Linked DNA regions of Homo sapiens: region 2 is linked to region 1. Evidence: promoter capture Hi-C in 16 types of primary human blood cells and fetal thymus (Javierre and others, 2016). All regions are on one chromosome and are shown on one strand. Each heading gives the region's core, a stretch centred on a gene start or on the middle of the fragment in contact. The rest is flanking DNA. Distances are from core to core; before and after follow the strand shown.

Region 1 (4,573 bases), core at 934-3,433:
CCCTTTGACCCCCATCTCATATTCATCTTCGTATCACCACACCTCCAACACAGGGCCTGGCAGAGAGTAGTAGGTGCTTACTGTTTGAAGAATTCAACTAACAAAATATAACACGAAAAATCAGACTTGGGTTTAATTTACAAAGCAATAAAATTTTCTTACCTGCTAGTGTGGAAGTTTTCTTTAAGGGTTTTAAAGAAGTCAACATAATAGGTCACAACAATGGATGCCAAAATCCAGAATCCAGAATGGATATTAAGTCTTGGAAGAGGTTTCTCCTTTTTCTCAACAGCTGTGGAGGTTTCTGCAAATAAGGGAGATTTCAACTTATTAAGTTACCACAATTTTGCGAGGAAAAATTACACTTAAGCCAAATAAAATCATTTCCTAGAGCTAAGAAACAGTCTCTCCCATGATAACAAATCCTTCTGTAAAACCCTTGAGATAGGTTTATATTTACAAAAAATAAGAGCCCACTATAAAATATGGTCAATACAGTCAATTTATTTCCTCTAAATACATTGTGAAATCAAATTTACACTTTCATCGTCTTTCGGAAATAACAATGTCACCTGGAAATGTAAGAATTTTAATATTATGTTTCACATTTCTTCTAGGAAAGTAATTAGTCTTGTTAATTAGGAAAAATGCCAAAGGCAAACATTAGCGCATGAACTGGACTTGTGGTCTTCCAAGAACACTTTTATAACTAAATTTTTTTTTTTTGAGTCGGAGTCTTCCTCTGTCGCCCGGGTTGGAGTGGAATGGTTTGATCTCGGCTCACTGCAACCACCGCCTCCCGGGTTCAAGCAATTCTCCTGCCTCAGCCTCCCGAGTACCTGGGATTACAGGCGCCTGCCACCACGCCGGGCTAATTTTTGTATTTTTAGTAGAGACGGGGTTTCACCATCTTGGCCAGGCTGCTCTATTTGGCCAGGTTGGTCTCGAACTCCTGACCTCGTGATCAGCCCGCCTCAGCCTCTCAAAGTGCTGGGATTACAGGCGTGAGCTACCCTGCCCAGCCTATAACTAAATATTTTAGTTACTTTAAACACAGCTCAAAAGTGGAAACGGCACACCAGAGCTCTAGTTCCAGCACAGCACTGTCTAGACAGGTGATGGACAAGACATTTTTCCTGTCTGGAACGCAATCTGAAAGAATGGGTGGATGGGGGTTGGGTCAGATGGATGATTTCTATTAAGTTTTCCGGGGATTCTGACATGCCCTCTAGGTTCACGTGAGAATCAATGGTCCACATCTGAGGTTTTGGGCCTTTAGATGACCATCGGAAACCCTGGGAAGCATGTTCGTAATATTCTGGGATATCCTCAAAATGTATACATCATCATGCCTGGGCATGAGGTTATTCGTGTTTTTAATTTTAAAAGGTAATAAATGGACGTGGTTTTAAAACATATGAGATAAAAAATATCCAAAATGAAGTATCTGTCTCCCATCCTTAACCTCAGATCTAATCCCCAGAAGCAACCACCACTTACAATTTCTACTGAATTCTTCCATATTCTATGCATTCACAGGTGAACATACATCACAAGTTACCTGTTTTGTACCCAAATGGCGGCATACCATAGTGTTCCACACTTCCCTTTGAAAATCATCCCCATTGGTACATACGAGTCGACCTGATGTGTCAGGTATACATATACCCAAATTTACTTAAACAGCTTTCTGCTGACGGGCAAGGCAGATATTTCCAGTAATTCGCTATTACAAGCAATCCTGAAGTGAAACACTGCGCACATCATTGTACACTGCGGTACACGCATGTTTCTGGTAAATCCTTAAGACTTAAAACTGGTGGGTATTTTTAATTTTAATCGCTATTTCCAAATAGGTGTCAAATCAGCTCTCCAGAGAATTCTGAAGCGCAGCTGAAATGACGATGCACAGCACTCCGCGATTCTAAGGATCTTCCCTGACATTAAATATTCGACTTGCAAAGCCGAAACTCAGTCCTTCCAGACTGGGCCAGGGCTGCCGGAGGCCGGCCGTTTTCCGACGCCTCGCCTCTGAGAACCTCGGGGCGGCTTGGTGCGCGCCTCACCCGGCCCGGCGTCACCCTCGCGGTCCAGCTGGGCCTCGGCGTCCGGCAGGAGGAGGAATCGCCGCCGGAGCTGCTGCCGGGCCCGCGAGGAGTCCATCTTGGTACCGCCCCGAAATGCGACGGAAGTGACGTCAGACACAGCGCTTCCGGCGTCCGCTCCGGGTCTGGACCTCCTGGCGTTTGGATTGGAGACTGTGTTCTCTTCGCTGTTTAGTTAGCGAGCAGCTAGGGTGGAGTCGGCCTCAAAGGTTCCGCTCTCATGTCGGCAAGTGTGATTTGAATTTTAAAACACTGAGCTTTGCCGGTGGAAGAGTTCCCAAGTTTATTCCGACCTACGGAAGCCCAGGAGGACCAGGATTACCGCTGCCGCTGGATGCGTCCAGGGCCGGGATGCGCGACCGTGAGACGCTGCGCTTCCGAAGCCCTCGCAGGCTTCCGGGTGCCAGAGCAGGAGACATACCCTCTGTCCAGCCTTCCACTCTCAGCCCCCAGTTTTTTTCCTACTTTTGCTTTTCAGGAGTCGTCCAGCAAGACTTGAAAGGAGGAGAAAGGCCTGCTGGACAGGATGCTAGAGCCTGGCAGTGACCACTTGGGGGCCCTGGGCATTAAATAAACTTCTTGGGGCCCGTTTCGTTATTACACTTGGCTCTAGATTTGTTGTGCGTTTCAGTGAGAAGTACCTGTATGTGGTTCATGTGAGCCTCCTCCTCGCCACTTGTGAAAAATCCTCCCAGCCTGAACCGAGGGAACTAAATTGCTTTCCCAGCAAACTGCGGTTTTCCACACTGCTCACGCCCACAAACTGTGTGTTACGAGTTCACAACTTTTTCTTCGTCAATAATCCCGCGTATTACTCTCCCAGCCGTTTCCCAGCGTGTCATGTGCTGAGAAATGGTGGGCTTAGCCACGCAAACGTTTACTGAGCATCTACTATTTGGTAGGAGCTGTTAGGCACCATGCTAGCAGTGGAGATAAAGATGAGTAAGACATGGCCTTGCACGTGAGGAGCTCCTTGTCCAAAGAAAACCACAGAGGTATATTACAAGAAAACTCTATTTGTAAATGTATGAAAGCATTTCATCAATGCAGCCAACATTTTCTGAGCAGCTGCATGTGATAAAATGGTGAGGACAGAAGAATCTAGTAGAGGAAGCAGCTTCAATACAGTGCCATAATAAAAACACTGTACATGGGGCATAATAGAAACACTGTACATATAAAGGGCAGTTTATTCTGCTGCAGTGTGGGAGAGCAGGGAGAGTGGTTTCAGGTGAGTTGAATACAGGGGTGGAGAGCCAGCTACATAGGAAGTAAAATTTGAATTAGTAGGCACTGTTTAATATCTTCGATGTGTTGGGGTGTTTGTAAAAGGAATGTAATAAGAAATACTCAAGAAAAGAGTGCCAGCCGCGCGCGGTGGCTCACGCCTGTAATCCCAACACTTTGCGAGGCCGAGGCGGGCGGATCACAAGGTCAGGCGTTTGAGACCAGCCTGGCCAACATGGCGAAACCCCGTCTCTACTAAAAATACAAAAGTTAGCCGGGAATGGTGGCCGGCACCTGTAATCCCAGCTACTCTGGAGGCTGAGGCAGGACAATCACTTGAACCTGGGAGAAGGAGGCTGCAGTGATCCTGCCACTGCACTCCAGCTTGGGCAACAGAGTGAGATTCCCTCTCAAAAATAAAAATAAAAAAAATTAAAAAAAAGAGAGAAATACCAAATCCCTACTGATTTATCATTTCTTCAGCCTTTCTTCCCCCTTCGGAGCACAGGATTTAACAGCTGGGTGGATCATATGGCCTTTCTAAACAATACCTCCTTTATCCTGTTTTTTTTTTTCTGTTTTTTTTTTCTTTCAAGACTCCTAAAGAACTGGATTCATTTATTCAAAGTCAACTGAAGTCTTTGCCCTCTCTTCTCTCTCGTACGGGGTTAGAAGCCTTGTTAACAGGAAGTGAATTTGTCCCATCAAATACAATCTTCTGTTGATTGTCTCCTCGAAAAAGGGTCAGTGCAGGGCCTCCGTGGTAACTGAATACTCCCAAGAGCATCGCCGCTATCCCAGGTTCCCATACATGGTATGTTCAGGTCAGATCAGGTTTCTCCTTTTGTGGTTTCGGGGCCTTTGAATTTGGATCTGAAATCCTTCCAGAGTTTTTTTCTCTGCAATTTTAAATGGCACTACTTGCACAGCATATTGATGATACTTAAAAGGAGGTTGGAAAAATTCCAGTATTTAATGACCACATCTTCATTTCTGAGGTCCATTAAAGAAGCCCTTTGGGCAGGTGCAGTGGCTCATGCCTGTAATCCCAGCACTTTGGGAGGCTGAGGCAGGTGGCACCTCAGCTCAAGAGTTTGAGACCAGCCTGGCCAACATGGTGAAACCCCGTCTCTACTAAAAATACAAAAAAAAAAAAAAAAATTAGCTGGGCATGGTAGCAAGCGCCTATAATCCCAGCTGCCTGGGAGGCTGAGGCAGGAGAATGGCTTGAACCCAGGAAG
Region 2 (4,573 bases), core at 1,787-4,286, 2.0 Mb after region 1:
GAACTTCTGGGCCCAAGCAATCCCCCTGGCTTGGCCTCCCAAAGTGCTGGGATGACAGGTGTGCGCTACCATGCCCAACCAGCCGCACATGTTGTTTTTTTGTTGTTGTTTTTTGTGTGTGATGGAGTTTCGCTCTTGTTGCCCAGGCTAGAGTGCAATGGTGTGATCTTGGCTCACCGCAACCTCAGCTTCCCGAGTAGCTGGGATTACGGGCATGCGCCATCAAGCCCGGCTAATTTTGTATTTTTAGTAGAGACGGGGTTTCACCATGTTGGTCAGGCTGGTCTCAAACTCCCGACCTCAGGTGATCCACCCCCCACCTCCAGGCCTCCCAAAGTGCTGGGATCACAGGCGTGAGCCACCATGCCTGGCCCATGTTGTTCTTATCTCATTAACCCAGTGGGCTAAAAACTCATTGCCACACTCAGTAGCTTAAACCACAGAAATGGATTCTGCCACAGTTATGAAGGCCGGAAGTCTGAAATCAGTGTCACTGGGCAAAAATCAAGGAGAATCTGTTCCCTGCTCTTCCAGATTCCAGGGACTGCCTGCATTCCTTGACTTGTGGCCACATAATTCCTATCTTCAATGCCAGCGTCTTGGAATCTCTCTCTGCTCTATGTCCACATCAACTTCTCCGTGTGTGGTCAAATCTCTGTCTGCCTCTCTCCTGCAAGGAGATAAGCCAGGCTAATGGCCCCTTCTCAAAATCCTTAATCACATCTGCAAAAACCCTTTTCTAAATAAGGTACCATTCACAGGCTCCAGGAAGTGATCTCTTTGGGGGCCTTGTACACCAATAGCCTGTAAACCGCCACACTCTGCTGTCTTTCAAATGACAACTCACCAAGCCTCTGTCCTCATTTTCTTTGAATACTTGGCATGTAGTCCAATGCCTGGAACAGGCAGGATGTCACTAAATGTTTATATTTTTTAATTTTTATTTATTTTATTATTATTCTTATTATTTTTGAGACAGAGTTTTACTCTGTCGCCCAGGCTGGAGTGCAGTGGCATGATCTCTGCTCACTGCAACCTCCAGTTCCTGGGATCAAGCGATTCTCCTGCCTCAGCCTCCTGTGTAGCTGGGATTACAGGCATGTGCCATGACGCCCGGCTAATTTTTTTGTATTTTTAGTAGAGATGGGGTTTCTCCATGTTGGCCAGGCTGGTCTCGAACTGCTGACCTCAAGTGATCCACCCACCTCGGCCTCCCAAAGGGCTAGGATTACAGGTGTGAGCCACCACGCCTGGCCAAAAGTCACTAAATGTTTGTTGAGTAAATGGAAGTAGGTTTTAAATAGGTGTAGGGAAGGAAGTGGGCCAAGAACTTGAATGCAGAGTCTGAAAATCATGGGCAGACATCAAAGGACTGAATTGTGGGGGGTATATTTGGATGTCAGGTTAAAGAGTTTGGACACTGTCCTATGGGCAAGAAAGAGCTTATATGAAGTCCTTGCATAGGTGATTCATCCATCCATCCATCCATTCATTCATTCAATACTCAGCAGCAACATGCAGAGCTCAGCTCTTGGGGGAATGAGGACAGGTGTCCTAGAAAAGATAGCATTGAACAGCTGGCTCTTTCTCCCACCAGAGTTGTGTTTTAATAAGTTCTAGTATTTCTAGCAGTTACTGCTTTAAGTGTGTGGCTACTAGATTTTCTGGCTCATTCAGATTCATGACAATGAAATCTTTGTGGATTGTGCCTGGCACCCTTACATAATACCACTCTTCCCGTGAATGCTTTCCATCATGCGTTCTTCCTTATCAATAGTAATTTGCCATTTTTCAAATGTCTGCTGTGATCTTCTACTTCTCAATATTTTTGGTGTGTTTCTTGTAAATAGCGCTTAACTGGACTTTAGTTTTTGCCCCAATCTTACAGACTTTGGATGGGAAATTCAGCCCATTCACCGTGTTACGAAGGCGGGTAGCCATGGCTTTATTTATTTTATCTCATCTTATGTTTACTATTATTAAGCTTATTGTTCTTGCTATTATTTACTTTCCCCCTTAATTTTGCTTCCTTACTCTCCCTCCACCCCTCCCCCAACTTCTACCTAGTAATTCAGGAGTTCTACTCTGCTTCTTTCCCGTGAGTTGCTACTTTCCAATTCCTGAGAGTCATAATTCAACCAATCTTTCCCTGATAATGTATTAAAAGTAAATGGTAATGAAGCCCCCTCCCCACCACCAATAAGGCTTTCCTTCCCCAGCTGAGAGTCATAATTAAACCAATCTTTCCCTGCTAATGTATTAAAAGTAAATGGTAATGAAGCACCCCTCCCAACCACCAATAAGGCTTTCCTTCCCCACTCACCAAATCAGATCCTTTTACTTCCTCCTTCTCCCCTCAACCAAATGTGATCTTAAAATATTCTGACTTCTCTGTGATAAGATTCTATTTTTTTTTTTAGTTCCAGGCTAATACAACTTTCTCTTGAAGCATGTAGCTTATGTTTTAAGAATCCTTATGTGGCACTGCTAGTACAAAATCACAGGCACATGTGGATTATCCATACTGTATATTTTGCAAGGGTCATTGCTTAACACCACTTCCTGTTCTGAGCGTTTGCTCTATCTTGAAATCTCTACTGTGATTGAACTGTCTCGGTGACGGGGGAACTCTGAATATCTTCCTCTGAAAGGGGACATCACTGAGGTCCTTTCTCTGTCTTGCCACAGTGGATATTTTCTCTCTTTTGTCCACATAGATGAATCCTGTAGTAGCCATGGTAAGGATCCTTGATCCTATCATCAGAGTCCCTGGACATTGCTCCAAAGTCCCCTAGGAACCACTTCAACTTTTCTCCCCTTAGATGTGACCTGTTCTTTCTGGAACTCTGCAAGACCGTCTCTTTATCCTTGGCATCTGGGATTTCCAGGGACACGTTCTCCTGGCACTTTGCTCACCTCTGTTTCCCCTCCAGCTCTTCCTGGAGTACCTGTCCTTTGTGCAATACACCTCCTGGAACTGTCTTTCCAGTCTCTGCTTTTTGTCCTGATGATTTTCATGTGCTTTTCCTCTACATCATGAAGCATTTACTCCACATTATCTTCCAGTTTGCTCATTTGTCCTCACCTCCACTCTTCTCTTTCTGAATTTGCCTGTTGCTTTTTCAGTCTCTTAGCTCCGTGGAGTATGTTCAGTGTTGCTGTGTTCTGATAGAGGCTCCTTAAGCCATCTTGTAGATTTTTTGTTGCACTTCCTCTCTTCCCTTAGACCTCCACAGGAGGAACTTTTCAATCTGTCCTCTTCTCTCTGCTTAATGAGCCCCTGCAAAGGGTTTGGGAAGTGCTTCAGCCTCTCTGTGATTGTGTGTTCACATTAATATTTATTATTTTCTTAAATGTGCATAAATCTCACAATGTGAACAGTGATCATCTTTGAGTGATTTTTTTTCTCCTTTCTACTTTTAGTAATTCTCCAAATTTTCTACAGTTAGTGTGTGATAAGGTGGAAAGACATCTTCAAGACTTTGGGCAAATAACTATGTCTGAGCCTCAATTTTCACATCAATAAAAAATGGGCTCAGTGCCACCTCCCTCCTTGGGTCACTAGGGGGGCCCTTGAAAGCTGTGAAAGCCCCTAAGCCAACCTGGACAGAGCAGGCGAGGCTGACGGCAGGTGTTCTTCCTTCCTCTGTGAGCCTCACAGGGTCACACGTGAACATTGGGGATCGGGGGTGGGCAGTGGGGGCAGCTGGAGAATCAAATGAGGTGACTGACATGAACTACGCCGCTTTGACAAAAGTCCTCCGAAGTAGTGTGTTCAGAACTCATCTCCAAAGCCATCTGGAATATTTGCTCCCAACATGTTGGTAAGCATTATCTCTGACAGTCACTCCGAGCCCCAGTTTCTGCTGTGATAACTAGGACAGGTAGCTCAGGTTGGTTGTGGGGACCAGAGACAGAGCAGGCAGGGTCTCACGTTCCCCAGGGCCTCTCAAGGATAGACCCTCGCCCTCATCTCCAAACCACGCCTCCCAGACAGGAACCAAACTCCCAGAGTCTCCAAACTGCCTGAGCCTTGCCCACTCCCTGGGCTAACACACACTTTAAAGGAATCCCACAGTCACCGTGTGAAAAGCTTGCTACACTGCATTTGATTCTGGGCACTGAAAGCAGTACTTGGCTGCAGACACTCGTTTCAAACAGGCCCCATTTTTCCATCTCTGCTGCTGTTATTAGGGGAGCCCTTAGACTCTCTTGCAGCGCCGGAATAGGCGCTCAAGACGTGTGTTAATATTGCAACAGCAAATATAATGAATCTGCAGTTGGGGACGCTGAGGCCGGAGTGGTGGATGAAAGGTGGCCGGAGCCTTTTCCACGGGTCCAAACCACCTGTTACAGGAGAAGGCGAGCGGCCTCGCTAAGCAACTGGACGTTCCGCGGGCGGGGCGGGGGCGGGGCCGGGGCCCGAGTCCGCTCGGAAACTTTCGCTGTGGGCGAGCCGGACCCGCCTTCTGGCCCCTCGGGCCCAACCACGCAGGGGGAGTGCCGGGCCGCAGCTAGGCGAGGCGCACCGTGATTGGCGGAGATGTGGAGTGATTGGCGGCTACACCGGCCA

The links. Contacts are between HindIII fragments. The CHiCAGO score rates a contact against its expected background, and 5 or more counts as called.
Region 2: a fragment that was not itself captured here is called in contact with the fragment with the promoter of TMEM128 in region 1 in 2 of 17 cell types (total B cells and naive CD4 T cells); the score reaches 6.6 in total B cells.

The regions. Positions count from the first base shown.
Region 1 is chr4:4,246,040-4,250,612 of GRCh38, forward strand. TMEM128 (transmembrane protein 128) reads right to left here and starts at 2,184. Exons shown (of 5, transcript NM_001297551.2): 1 at 2,067-2,184; 2 at 163-304. The coding sequence starts at 2,163. RefSeq lists enhancers at 1,526-2,152, 2,455-2,564. The HindIII fragment of the contact is 7,732 bases long and covers 1-4,573 here.
Region 2 is chr4:6,265,191-6,269,763 of GRCh38, forward strand. No RefSeq gene overlaps it. Among named protein-coding and RNA genes, the nearest start is that of WFS1, 2.4 kb to the right of the region's middle. RefSeq lists an enhancer at 1-442. The HindIII fragment of the contact is 2,109 bases long and covers 1,983-4,091 here.